Linked DNA regions of Homo sapiens: regions 1, 2, 3 and 5 are each linked to region 4. The links are contacts of gene promoters, found by promoter capture Hi-C in blood cells and fetal thymus (Javierre and others, 2016). All regions are on one chromosome and are shown on one strand. Each heading gives the region's core, a stretch centred on a gene start or on the middle of the fragment in contact. The rest is flanking DNA. Distances are from core to core; before and after follow the strand shown.

Region 1 (2,700 bases), core at 10-2,509, 190 kb before region 4:
GCTGAGGCAGGAGAATGGCAAGAACCTGGAAGGTGGAGCTTGCAGTGAGCCAAGATTGTGCCACTGCACTCCAGCCTGGGCAACAGAGCAAGACTCCATCTCTAAATAAATAAATAAATAAATAAATAAATAAATAAATAAATAATAAATAAATAAAAATAAAAATGCAAAACATCAGCCAGGCATGGTGGCAGGTACCTGTAATCCCAGCTACTCTGAAGGCTGAGGCAGGAGAATTACTTGAACCTGGGAGGCAGAGGTTGCAATGAGCAGAGATCACACCACTACACTCCAGCCTGAGCAACAGGAGTGAAACTTCATCTAAAAGAAAGAAAGAAAAAGAAAGAAAGAAAGAAAGAAAGAAAGAAAGAAAGAAAGAAAGAAAGAAAGAAAGAAAGAAAGAAAGAAAGAAGGAAGGAAGGAAGGAAGGAAAGAAAGAAAGAAAGAAAGAAAGAAAGAAAGAAAGAAAGAAAGAGAAAGAAAGACAATTAGCACCAGTTATCTTCCTCACAACATTCTGTTACAAAAATATTCAAACATACAGGAAAATTTTTAAAGTTATAAAGCAAACACCCATATACCCACCAAAATTAACATTTGGTCATATTTGCTTTATCATCTATCAATTGATCCATCTGTCTATCCATCTTATTTTTAAATGCATTTTAAAATAAGATACTAAAAAATATGTTTTGCCCAGAAACACTTCAACATGTATATCATTAACTAGAGTTCCATATGTATTTACAGATTTTTTAAAGTAAATTTTTATATAATCAAATGCACAAATCTTAAGTCTTACTATTCAAAGAGTTTTGCCAAGTTCATCCACTGATGTAATTCAAACCCTTCATCAAGAGATAGAAAATATTCTTCACGCCAGGAAGTCCACTCATGCTTTTTCCCATCCAATTCCCACTGCTCCCGCCTCCACCTGCAAACACTTTTCTGTTTTTTTCTTTTTTTTTTTCCTACCAGAGCTTAATTGTATCTGTTCTAGGACATCATGTGAATTGAGACATACCATAAAAGGCCTCTTTCAGTCAGCCCAGTGTTTTTAAGATTCATACATGTGGATGTGCATATCACTAATTTTTGTCTTCTTTGCACAGAGTCGTATCCTGTTGTGTGGATATACCACAGTTTGTCCACTCTTCTGTTGATGGACACCTGGGATATTTCTAGCTTTTATCCATTGTGAACAAAGCTGCTATGGACTTTTGGTTTTTTAACAATTCTTTTTGTGGTCATATGTTTTTATTTGTCTTGGGTAAATACCTCCCCTCCAGAGGATGCAGCGTTCGAGGCGCTGGATTTTATTAATGTTTAGATTTATAAGAAGGATAAAGCACCACCTACCTTCATGTCCTCTCCCATCCTTTGCCTCAGTGTAGATGTAAGCCAGCTGGTGCCATCTCCCTCCCTTCGTGAATTCTGTGTGGAGTCCTCTTCCTGGTTCATCCTTGTTATTGTGCCTTGCTCAGGACCACTCCAGGCCACTAGGTATGCTTCAGTACTTGTAACTCTTATAGGGCTGGGAATCTTTATCCCTTTCTTTTCAGGAGTCCTGCTTCCTTGCAAATGCTCCTATCTCTCCCTCAGAAACCTCCAACCTCCCCACATCAGTTGATGGACATTGGCCTCTATCTAGGCTGATTCGAAGCTCTAAGTGAGCTCTAATGTTCTACAAGCAGGTCTGATTACCCATCGTCACCAGCCTGAGTTCTTTCTGGGCCCATTCAGAGTGGCTAGGGAAGGAGCTGTGAAGCAAGGAGCAGACAGTTGGATTCCTATGACCTGGTCCAAAGATGCAGATTCAGAGCCAACTCCCTGGCCCACCAGACTTTAGCACCTCTTATCTCCCTTGGATGTCTACACTCAGGCCTCATTGCCCACCTGTGGAGGGGCCACCATCTGCAGATGGGCGATGGGGCCTGAGTGGGAACATGAGCGCTCTCCAGCCTCAGTGAAGCTCAGCCTTCACCCAACTGTGTATCATACATAGCACCCCGGTTAAGAATGAGGACAATGGACACAGACACCCTGGTTCCAGACCTGACTCTGGCCGTCTTCACGTGTCTCCTGTTGCTTCTGTTGTGATAAATTTCAAATATAATGCAAACTAGAGAGAGAGGAGCTGCTGCTGGCTCTGCTGAGTTCCTTCTCACCTTACACAACCTGAGCTTTATGACCTAGAGCAAGGTACTTCCCTCTGAGCCTCAGGTTTCTGTCTGTAAAGAGCCATACAAATGGCAGATAGTGGGGTGTTACAATTGACCTATGAGCTTGGGCAGGCCAGGTGAGCCCAGGTAAATGGAAGCCCCTACTACCATTTCATGTGGCCCCTCCCTCTTGAATTCATGCCCAGTCATTATCTCCATCACCCTCTTAATCCTCACCACAGCCTTGGGAGGGGGTGTGGCCGTACAGGAATTATTAACCCCTTTTACAGATGAGAAAATTGAGGGGTAAAGCAGAAAACTGGCCTGCCACATCCCCATGAGGGAGCCTGGGTTTCTGACTCTCTCTGTGCCTGTCCTTCTGTTTAACGTGTTAATTTATGGTGAACTCTCACATGTGGAGAGGAAGAGGGTAGAGCCTCGTGGCTAAAAGCCAGTTAGGAGCCAGCCCACCTGGGTTCCAATCCACCTAGTAGCTCTGCAGCTACTAGGGCAAGTCACCTAACCTCTTTGTTCCTTG
Region 2 (2,700 bases), core at 85-2,584, 170 kb before region 4:
CAAATTTAGTGAAAGAACAGTGAGGATCTCACAGAATACATGGGACAGATGCAGAACCAGGATTAGAAAATGGGCAGAGGCCAGGACCATGGCCAGAAGCTCTCACAGAGCAGAGTACCAAGAACTCTGCTACCGGCCCCAAGTCCTGCTAGCCACAGCTCACACGGCAGAGCTGCTTGCACTGGGCACTGGATCCGCCAGCTGCCCTGCTGCCACCATGACCCTTGGAGGCTGGGGCTGCTGCTGCACCAGCATGGAGCCTCCACTGTCTGTGTCACTGGAGCAGATGGGAGCGAGTGCCTGTGGCCTCACTGCTGGGAGGCTGGAAAATAAGTGTCCAGCCTTTTCTGCTTCTACTGTGAGAGCCAGACTCTGACAAAGCATAAGCGGGGCACTCAGATGCCAGGATGGCTCCCAAAGGACAAATGTCCACTCCAGGGAGACCTGCTTACCTACAGAGCTCTGGTCTTACAGAATGGACTAATCAAGTTTGGGGCCAGAAGTAAATATCTCAGGAGAGTAAAAAGAGGATTAATGTCACCGTTAGCTATCCCTTCTCTTTAGATAAATGTCAAGGCTTTCATTTTGAAGCTGTGTTAAGCTGTTTGCCTGCCTGGAGGGACATCTCTATGTCTCAGTTAGAGCCTGGCCATTTCCCAATCATGAGTTCTATCAGGTCAGGCCAGGAAGAAGACTTAGACCCTGAGACTCAGGGACGTCTAAGCTGATATCCATGGAATGTGTCTTAATGACCTCTCTATAATTGTGGTAACATGGCTTGGGAGTAGAGTTGCCTGCGTTCTGGGCAATGATCATTGCAATGGTATGATCTGTGGGAAGAAATAGAAATGCTCTGAAGTGGGGAAAGGACGAGAATATAGTCACATATGCTTTCATTTGTGCCACATGCCTGCCCACCCCAGGAGGGTCCCCTGGGACTGGGGGTGACACCGTTGCATGGTCCTCCACCCTCCCCCACCTTATGGACTTTCACTTATCCATGGCTAATCATTCTACAGACAAAATTACCAAGGCCCAGAGAAGGTCCTTTGTCTGCCTGAACCCAGAAATTGCAGGAAAGCAGGCAGAGTCAGGCTGCACCTTTTCCTTAAAATCAGGATCAGCTTGGAGTCCAAGGGGCCTATACAGACAGCTTCTGCTAAAGACCCTAACATGTCAGTGACTCACAGTGAACATTTATTTCTGGCTCACATCCATATCTGCTGTGGGTCAGCTTTGGCTCTGACCCACACCACCCTCATTTCAACACCTAGACTAGATGAAAACACCTTATTTTGCTCCCATGGTAGGAAAGAAAGAGCAATCATGGAAATGTGTGACGGCTCTTGGAGCTTCTGCTCAGAACTGGTTGTGTGGCCAAACCTGATGTCAGTGGGGTGGAGAAATTATACAATCTTCTCAGAAGGAGGGCAGGAAACAGTGGGAAGCAATAACACAATCAACTGCAGAGCCATCCTTGGGAAGCCACCACAGCGGACCCCTCCAGCGTCTCCTGCTCCTGACCCACTTGTCCTCCAAGTTGAGCCCCCAGCTGTCCCATGCCTCCTGCCCCTTCAGCTCTTTTCCTAGAGTTTGACCCAACAGTCCTAGTCCCATCTTTGAGATGTGGGGACTGAGGCCCACGGAGGAGACACAGGTCACCAAACTCCTCCCTAATGCCCTTCCCTGGGCAAGTGGCTCCATGCCAACCCCATCTTTTTCCGTGCGTCCCCTGCATCCCTCAGAAATACCTCTCTGTAGAGCACCGGCTGCATACCTGCTATGAAACTATATGCTTCTCACTGAGTCTCCCAACCACTTTGTGTAGTCAGTAATATCGATTATGCCCATCTCGCAGATAAGGAAACTGAGGCTTCCAGTGTAAATGACTTGCCCAGGGTCATACACAGAGATGGTACAAACCAGTTTTGCCCAACTCCAAAGCGTCCCACCACTGCCCCTCACACTGACTCGAATCCCTTCCTCCCCAGCCCCTGCCCACATTCATGGCCACCCAAGGTGTCATCCGCGGTCGAGGTGTCACAGCCACAGGACTGTCTCCCTCCCCACCTGCTCTAATCTTTAATTCAGACCCACCAAGCCAGCCCTTCAGCTCCCATTGCCAGCCACAGAAATGAGGATAAATGCGGCTGTCAGCGGCTTCCTGCCTCTTTGTTTTTTAATTTACTTAGAGTTGGGCAGCAGAGATGGCAGGAGAGGAAGCAGATGGCTCAGCATGACAGATGGGATCCTATCCAGTGACACAAGGACAAGGTGAGGAGAAAGCGTGATCAAAAGAAAGCGCAGCCCCAGTGCGAGAGTGCACTGCTTGAGCTCCCGTGCCAGGACGGCAGCACTGCAGCCGGCCTGCCAGCCTCCAGGGCGCAGGCTGGCACCTCTCAGGGCTGGGGCTCCAGACCTTCAGCCAACAGTGGGGACACTGAGGCTGGGAGAGTGACTGCAGCCTGCCTGGAGTCACCCAGTCAGCCATTCACAGAGCTGGGACTAGAACCTGGGACTGGGTTTGAAGAGGGCAGCTCCTGTCCCACCTCTGTCCAACCTCCTGAGGAGGATGGCAGGTGAGTCGATAGCACGTGGAATTTTACACTTGGGCCTTACCTGGTGCCCCACCCTGGGTATGTCCTGCAGGGACAATGTCATTGTTCACAGGCACAGCTGCACTCGGATGGGAGAGGAGCC
Region 3 (2,700 bases), core at 75-2,574, 190 kb after region 4:
CCTCCGGAGTAGCTGGGATTGCAGGCATCCGCCATCACACCCGGCTAAATTTCGTATTTTTTCAGTAGAGACAGTTTTGCGCCAGGCTGGTCTCAAACTCCTGACCTTAAGTGATCCACCTGCCTCAGCCTCCCAAAGTGCTGGGATTACAGGCGTGAGCCGCCGTGCCCGGCCATCAGTAATTTTTTAAAATGTCACTTCAATAAATGCTTTTCCTCTGCCATAAAGACCAAACATCTTGCTGTGGCCTACAGGAGACAGGATGATCCAGCCCTTGCCTCCCTTACTCTCATCTCTAGCTAAAACTGCGCTGCTGTCTCTGCACTCCAGCCACTGGCACTTCCTGATTACTTGGGGCACGCTGTACTCATCTTGCTCCCAGCCTCTGCCCATGCAGGTGCCCTCTGCCCTCAGCACTGCCTTTCTCTACTTCATTTATAGACTGCTGTCCTTCAGATCTCGGTTGAAGTGTCACTTCCTTGGGGAAGCTGGCTTACACTCTCAGGACTCGGTTAGGTTCCCCCGTCAGGCTCTTCTATGTCACCATGTTTCTATTTTTCACAGCACTTAACCTGTTTTAATTACGTTGCAAATAGTTTTTGTTTGGGTCTAGAGAAGCATGTATTCACTAGTACATTTTATTTGTGTTCTCTAATTATTTTTTCTGCAGCTAAATTAGAAATTTGTAGTTTTCCCCCTAAAAATGCAATGATGTTTTCTCTGATTTTCTTGTCACCTTTCTTCCAAAAAATCCATGTGTTCAAAGTGCTTGCTTGCAGTTTGCCCCATAATAAATGGTTGTTTAATCCAAATATCTGAGTAGCAAACTGAGCTGATCCTTCTGGAGAAAGTATGGTTGAATAGCCGAGACCACTGAGTAGTCGCAGAGAAGACCACACATCCTGAACTCCTCAGTCTGGTGTGAGGGGAGGACAATAGATAACTGGATGTGTAGTGTTCCCAAACATCACTGATCCCAAACCATTGCTTCTGCCTGCCACTGCCACAAATACAGTACGACTGCCACCCCTTCATACTCAGCTTTAATCCTCAGCATTTCTTCTGGTCCTTTATGTGCAGATGTTACTCAAAGTCTACATGGAATGCCAAAATTTCCACAGGCCTTGATTTTTTTCACGGTGATTAAGATCAGAAGTAGAACCCATCAATACTATAACACTGCACTGACTTTCTGATTTCAAAAGCAACTCTACTCTCTACAACCCACGCAAAGTTTTTCCTTACCATTTGGAACCCTTCAGGAGTTACACTGAAGCCTTGATAAGACTGTTTCAGCCAGGAGTGGTGGCTCACGCCTGTAATCCCAGCACTTTGGGAGGCTAAGGCAGGAGGATTGCTTGAGTCTGGGCAACATGGCAAGACTGGCTCTATTTTTTTAAAATAACATTTTTAAAAGTATGATTAAAAGACTGTCTTTCTATTGGCTTTGCTCCCCCGATGGTGAGTGTCTCTAGGAGTCATTATCAATAACATCAGTGAGAATTTCTTTGCTGGTCACATGAACACCAAATTCAATCTTCATATCAACCGGTGTACAGTTCTGGGAGCAACCGGGATTTCTCCGGGATTTCAAAAACAGCCTATGTGGCATGACTCATGATATCCACTTCAGTTTTATACCAAGTGCAGCAAAGCCAAATTTTGCTGCAATTAGCTGTTGCCTAGACCACTGTGGGTCATGATTGGCATCATCCTTGAAAAACATCTCCACTTTAGGTGGGCAAAACTCACATCCTTCCTTGACACCAGGATTTCTTTCGAGTGAAGAACCAGTTGGTATTCTTCTGCAAACCATTCAGTTGGAATTATTTCACACTGGGGCACAATGAAAGCTGTCTCCTCACATTTTCTGGTGAAAGCAGTTTTAATACCTGCTTCCTGTAACAACAGAAAAATGCAACTGGTAATTTTATTTGAGATTGCAGCTTTTCCTTCCAGGTGATTCTGACTGCATTTCCTGCTGTAATCTGGTCCTTAGATTGCAGGACTTTTCCTGGCCTATCTAACAAGCAATTCATAGACCTCTTTTGTTTTACCCTCACATAGTTTTTTAGCAATGTTCAGTACCTCAGCTCTCACTATTATCCTGAGTGGGATGAAAGTTGCACCCATGCTGAGAGGCAGAAATCTCTGTTGTGAATATTTGATACCTCTTGCTTTATTTATTTATTTATTTATTTATTGACACAGATTCTCACTCTGTCACCTAGGCTGGAGTGCATTGGCGCAATCTTGGCCCACTGCAGCCTCAGCCTCCCAGGCTCAAGCGATCCTCCCATCTCAGCATTGCCAGTAGCTGGGACCACAGGTGTGTGCCACCATTCCCAGCTAAATTTTGTATTTTTTGTAGAGACAGGGTTTCACCATGTTGCCTAGGCTGGTCTCAAACTTCTGAGCTCAAGTGATCCACCCACCTCAGCCTCCCAAAGTGCTGGGATTACAGGCATGAGCCACCATGCCTGGCCCTGTTGCCTCTTTAAAAAGCCAGTCCTGGCAGGGCACAGTGGCTCACGCCTGCAATCTCAGCATTTTGGGTGGCCAAGGCAGGAGGATCTATTGAGTCCAGGAGTTTGAGAGTTCAAGTCCAGCCTAGGCAATATAGTAAGACCTTGTCTCAAAAAAAAAAAAAAAAAAAAAACAACCAAGAATCAAGAATGATGGGACACATGGATATTCAGT
Region 4 (2,700 bases), core at 150-2,649:
AGGCAGCATTTCCCTCTCAACAGGGAGCATGCCACCTCCCCTGGGTGCAGATCCCAGGAAAAGTTACACTGACCAAATCAGGCCACTCCCTGGGACTGTTTCCTCAATTTTGGTTAATAATCAAAGGATGATCTGAAATCGCAAAGAAGAGACTCTTGGAAAAGACATAATTATGGTGCCACCCGACTTAGGAACTGGCATCCAAGTCCACCTGTGTGACTTTCCTCTGGGCCTCAGTTTCTCCATCTGTAAAATGAGGTCCTGTATTTATTTTTTGAGACGGAATCTCCCTCTGTCGCCCAGGCTGGAGTGAAGTGGTGTGATCTCGGCTCACTGCAACCTCTGCCTCCCAGGTTCAAGCAATTCTCTGCCTCAGCCTTCCGAGTAGCTGCTGGGATTACAGGTACCCGCCACCACACCCGGCTAATTTTTGTATTTTTAGTAGAGACGGGGTTTCACCATCTTGGCCAGGCTGGTATTAAACTCCTGACCTCGTGATCCACCCGCCTCGGCCTCCCAAAGTGCTGGGATTACAGGCGTGAGACACCGCACCCGGCCGAGGTCCTGTATTAAATGGATCCTTGCCAGCTCCTACAACATAAGGCATTAAATGTTCCCACAACTTGCTCCCCGCCGGCTGGCAGCGAACAGGGCTAAAGCCTCGACTTCCTCAGAGGTGAAAAGGTAAGCAAACATTCCGACCTCCCCTAGCCTTGCTCTCGGATTGGTGCTGGGCCCGGCTCCCACCGCCTATCCCGACCACATCCGTCATCTGGACTGCTAATACACTCATTAGCATAAAGATTCCTCCGAAGACCTGGCGCACGGGGCTGAACCGGAGTCTGTCCCTTTAAGGAAGAGGGACAGCCACTCTGTCCCTAAGGGCACTAGGCACTGCATTTCCTCCACACGGGCCACGCTGTAAACTAGACAGGTTCCGTGTTAATCCACTCTCCCTCCTCAACCCCGACAGGGGGATCCCTGGAGTGAACAACGCGCGGGGTCCCGGGGGACTGCGGAAAGGTTTGGCCTCTGCGCGTAGCAGGCTCCGCCAGGCAACCTCTCGCCCGAGGCGGCGGCGAGCTGCAAGCTAGGTGGAGCCGGCTGCGCGGCGGGACCCCAGCGCCCTGGGGCAAGACCCTGGTGCTGGCGCCAGGGCAGCCGCGGGAGGTGGCGTGTGCAGGAGCGGAGAGGTGCGCCCACCCCGGCCCCGGGCGCGAGGGGGGCGGGGCTTGGGCCGCGGCCCGGGGCCAGGCTCGCGGGGATGGGCGGTGCTGGGTCTGCGGGAGCGGGCGGGGGGCGGGGCGCGCGAGCGGGCTCCGGGGGGGCGGGGCGGCGGCGCGGGGCGGGCTCTGGCGGCCTGAGTGTCACACACGCGGCGGCTCGGGAGGCGGCGGCAGTGGCAGCGACAGGCGCCGCCGGGACGGGCACGGGCGCGCGGGCTCCGGCGGGCGCCGGCTGCCTTCCTCCGTCGCTCGCTGTCTCTCCCGGCCGCATTCTCCTCCGCTGCGGGGCCGAGCTCTCCCCAGCGCTCGCAGGAAGGAAGAAGGGAGCCGAGGACGCCGAGAAGTTCCCGCGGCAGCCGCGGATCCCGGCCAAGGCGGAGGCTGCGGCTCCGACGGGGCAGGAGCGCGATCCACGGCGAGGGGCGTACGGCCAAAGGGTCCGCGGCGTGGAGCGCTCGGACCTTCCGCTCTCCCCCGGGCGTGGGCCGGGACCCCATGAGACGCGCCCACGAGGGGCGCGAGATTCCTAGCTTGGGCGGCGCTAGGCGGAGGGAGGTGTTGCAGCCGCCGGAGCCAGAGAGCTGCCGGCAGGAGGCGGCGGCGGCAAGAACTTGAACTTGGCGTCGGGAGCGGGCGCCCCGGACGCCCCCCGCCGGGGCCGGGGCGCCGAGGGACCTGCGCCGCAGCGCTGCCCCCCGAATGGCCGCGGCGGCGGACCGGGCTCCCGCGCCGCGGCCCTAGGCGGCCTCTCGCCATGGCCAAGTGGCTAAACAAGTACTTCAGCTTGGGCAACAGCAAGACCAAGAGCCCCCCGCAGCCGCCGCGGCCAGACTACCGCGAGCAGCGGCGCCGAGGCGAGCGGCCTTCGCAGCCCCCCCAGGCCGTGCCGCAGGCCTCCTCCGCCGCCTCGGCGTCCTGCGGTCCGGCCACCGCCTCCTGCTTCTCAGCCTCTTCGGGCTCGCTGCCCGACGACAGCGGCAGCACCAGCGACCTCATCCGCGCCTACCGCGCGCAGAAGGAGCGAGACTTCGAGGACCCCTACAACGGGCCTGGCTCGTCGCTGCGCAAACTGCGCGCCATGTGCCGCCTGGACTACTGCGGCGGCAGCGGGGAGCCAGGCGGGGTCCAGCGCGCCTTCTCGGCCTCGTCCGCGTCGGGCGCCGCGGGCTGTTGCTGCGCCTCCTCGGGCGCGGGGGCCGCCGCGTCCTCGTCCTCGTCCTCCGGCTCTCCGCATCTCTACCGCAGCAGCAGCGAGCGGCGGCCCGCCACGCCGGCCGAGGTGCGCTACATCTCCCCCAAGCACCGCCTCATCAAAGTGGAGAGCGCCGCGGGCGGTGGGGCCGGGGACCCCCTGGGGGGCGCCTGCGCGGGCGGCCGCACCTGGAGCCCGACGGCCTGCGGAGGCAAGAAACTGCTCAACAAGTGCGCCGCCTCAGCCGCGGAGGAGAGCGGGGCCGGCAAGAAGGACAAGGTA
Region 5 (2,700 bases), core at 31-2,530, 140 kb after region 4:
CCACGTGCACTTGGCTGAGGCTGGTGGGAACCCTGAGGGGGGACTACAAAAGGCATCCAGCGGGATCCACCCACCAAGTGTCATTGCCTTCCCACTTACACACCCCTGGTAATGGGAGGCTTACTCCCTCAGTCTGAGCGCTCATCATTTAAAAACTTCTTGTCTAATAATGTGTTGGTTTTCTCATGAGAAAAATTGCCCAAAATGGGTTCATTTTGACATACCTACTGCTTTGTGTGCTAAAACGAGCCTTATGCCTCTACATGTTCGCCAGGAGAGGCATCTGCCAGCTCTCCTGCCTAGAGATGGCTTTTTGTCATGATTTACTGAAGGCCTTCACCCTGGGCCACCAACTTAGAGCTTGAGAAATGCCCTGGCGTCTCGGGTAGGCTAATCGCTGCTGATGCGTCTATTGAAAGTCTAATTATTTGGTTGTAAATCACGTCATTTTGCTCAGCAGCGTTTACATTGAGACGTTTGTTCACAATAACTTGGTGTGTGTGTCTTTGGCTTGTCACTGTGAAGGCTGCTTTGGAAGCTGTGGGCAGGATGCAGGTGTTGGCCACGTGGCCTCCTAAGCTCCTTTATCCCAGCTGCCTTGACTATTAGAACATCTCAGCTAGAAGGAGCCTCCATGCCCCCTGCCCCACGCCTCAGACAGCTGGAGAAACCAGTCACACAGTGAGATGCACTTACATCCTGGTCCCCTGGCTTGGGAAGCCCTGATAGCCTTGCATCGTGACTGGGCAAGTTGCTTCTCCCTCAGACCCTTAGTCTTCTCATCTGTGCAGTGGGTATCTTGCATATAATGCCAGCCCTCCCAGCTTCCTTGGGAGGCCACAGGTTAGTCCAGTCATGGACCAAGGGAGCATTTAAGGTCTTCTCAGCCATGCCAGAGGTAGGCCAGGCCCTGTGTGAGTGGGATCTGCCTGGGCTCTGGGTGAGTAATTGGACCACAGAGGTGGACTGTTGAAATATTTGCTGTGGAGAAGCCACATCTCTCACAGTGTTGGGGCAGTGTCTGTAAGGAGGTAGCCCAGGTCCAGGCTACAGCTCTCCATGCATTTGGGATTGTTGGCTTTCTGCTAAGATAGCAGGGCCCTCTCTTTGCTGAATGCTGTACTGAAACAGTGGCCTAATTCTCTTCAGAGATCTCTACCGCCTCTTTATCTACCACACATTGAGGGAGAACGGGGTCGTGTGTCTGCCTGGCAGGCGGGCACCCACTCTGGCTCTGTGAAGATTCAATGGACTTGTGTTCAGTCTCACTTCTCGCCTCAGTGGCTGCATAGTCCCAGGCCAGTCACTTGAGCCCTCTGACTCTGTTTCCCCACCTGGAATCTGTAGGCCCATCTCTTGGTGTTGCTGTGAAGAGGTACATAGAGCTCTTGGCAGCATGGCCACAGTCGGTAAGATGGGTAATGCTGTGCTTCTCGAATCTTCTAGCACTAGTGTTGCTGAAGTGGCTGCATCCTGCTCGCGGGTGTGAGGAGGAGAGTTTCTTTAGAGGCATAGACCTAGCAAAATGTCCCACTTCCCTGGAGGTCAAAGAGGCGGCAGGAGGAGAGCAGAAGTTGTGAGTCATAAAGGCACTGCTTTCAAGAGGCAGAATTGCCATCCTCAGGGTGGGGGTGGGGTTATGGCAGGAACTACCCATTTTGCAGGCTTGTAGGTGACCACGGAGGTACCTTGCCATGGTCACCCTCCATGCTGGCTCTCACCCACATCACAGCAGGTTAGCATTAGAGCTGGGCCTGACTCCCTTCAATTCCGCACAAACTTCCCTGTTTGCCTCCACCCTGTTGGAAGCAAGTACATGTCTGTGGGGGTGGAAGGGCCCTTCCCCATGCCAAGCATAGAGGCAGTGCTCCCAGGGATCAGAGTGTGAGCACTCGCTGCCCTGCTCCCCAAGGCCAAGGGACCTGCGACACCTCCCTCACCTGAGAATTATCTGGCAACTGATGGTTGAGTGCACTTTAAATGCACAAGCTCATTCTGTCTCTCCTTCCAACAACCTGGCCCAGGAATCTTCGCACAATGTAAGATTTAAATGTTTAAAATGGCCCAACAGCTTTGTGCCACATTCTTTGGGGTAATGGAAAATAAAGTCATAAGAAAGAGTAGGGGTAAAAAATAGCAAAATAAAATAGCCCAACAAGAAGAAAAGACGCAGCCACTTAGAGCCTGAGTAGGGAGGGGCAGGGCCAGCGCTCACATTACCCCTTCAAGAAGACCATGATTTTGCAAGGGAACTTGTCTCACTTTCATGTTTTATTTAGGCCTGGGCAGGGGACACTGGGCGGCTGAGTGGCCTCAGGAATAAGTCCTTTCCAAATCCTAAGGGAAGAGGGCTCTGGTGCATTCTTCCCTGTGGCCTCCCTGGGGGAGACTTTCTGATTTGAAAAGCGTGTGCCTGTGTACTCACCTCATAGGGATGACCCTCCGGAAGCTCCCCAGTCCTTCCCACTCTGCCAGTTCTCACTGGCTCGTCCTGGGACTGTTGCTGACTGGAGAAAGCATCCACTGTATCCAGCCTCAGAGTGGGCAGCTTCTCCCTTTGCTGGGCTGCAGTCAGGGACAAGGTCGACCAGCCACCAGCCTGCCCTGGGAAGCTTACGTCTGGAGGGGAGGATGCATGGGGCCTCATTGCCCCGGCTCTGGGCAGACCCTGGTGGGCGGGTGGATGGATGGATGGATGGA

What was found. The method cuts DNA at HindIII sites, captures the fragments that hold promoters and counts their contacts. A CHiCAGO score of 5 or more calls a contact.
Region 1: a contact is called between a fragment that was not itself captured here and the fragment with the promoter of SHB in region 4, in 3 of 17 cell types (endothelial precursors, M0 macrophages and M1 macrophages). The highest score is 9.1, in endothelial precursors.
Region 2: a fragment that was not itself captured here is called in contact with the fragment with the promoter of SHB in region 4 in 2 of 17 cell types (M0 macrophages and fetal thymus); the score reaches 5.3 in M0 macrophages.
Region 3: a contact is called between a fragment that was not itself captured here and the fragment with the promoter of SHB in region 4, in 1 of 17 cell types (M1 macrophages). The highest score is 5.1, in M1 macrophages.
Region 5: a fragment that was not itself captured here is called in contact with the fragment with the promoter of SHB in region 4 in 8 of 17 cell types (M0 macrophages, M1 macrophages, endothelial precursors and 5 more); the score reaches 13.1 in M0 macrophages.

What each region holds. Positions count from the first base shown.
Region 1 is chr9:38,258,778-38,261,477 of GRCh38, reverse strand. No RefSeq gene overlaps it. Among named protein-coding and RNA genes, the nearest start is that of ALDH1B1, 130 kb to the left of the region's middle. The HindIII fragment of the contact is 8,269 bases long and covers 1-2,700 here.
Region 2 is chr9:38,232,989-38,235,688 of GRCh38, reverse strand. No RefSeq gene overlaps it. Among named protein-coding and RNA genes, the nearest start is that of ALDH1B1, 160 kb to the left of the region's middle. The HindIII fragment of the contact is 4,391 bases long and covers 1-2,700 here.
Region 3 is chr9:37,877,512-37,880,211 of GRCh38, reverse strand. It overlaps a transcript of SLC25A51 not described here and the pseudogene PAICSP1. Among named protein-coding and RNA genes, the nearest start is that of SLC25A51, 25 kb to the left of the region's middle. The HindIII fragment of the contact is 5,529 bases long and covers 1-2,700 here.
Region 4 is chr9:38,067,926-38,070,625 of GRCh38, reverse strand. It overlaps SHB (SH2 domain containing adaptor protein B), which reads left to right and starts at 1,399. Exons shown (of 6, transcript NM_003028.3): 1 at 1,399-2,697. The coding sequence starts at 1,981. RefSeq lists silencers at 989-1,798, 2,219-2,268 and an enhancer at 2,159-2,700. The HindIII fragment of the contact is 5,108 bases long and covers 1-2,700 here.
Region 5 is chr9:37,925,131-37,927,830 of GRCh38, reverse strand. All of the region lies in intron 5 of SHB (SH2 domain containing adaptor protein B), which reads left to right. Among named protein-coding and RNA genes, the nearest start is that of SLC25A51, 22 kb to the right of the region's middle. The HindIII fragment of the contact is 2,669 bases long and covers 1-2,614 here.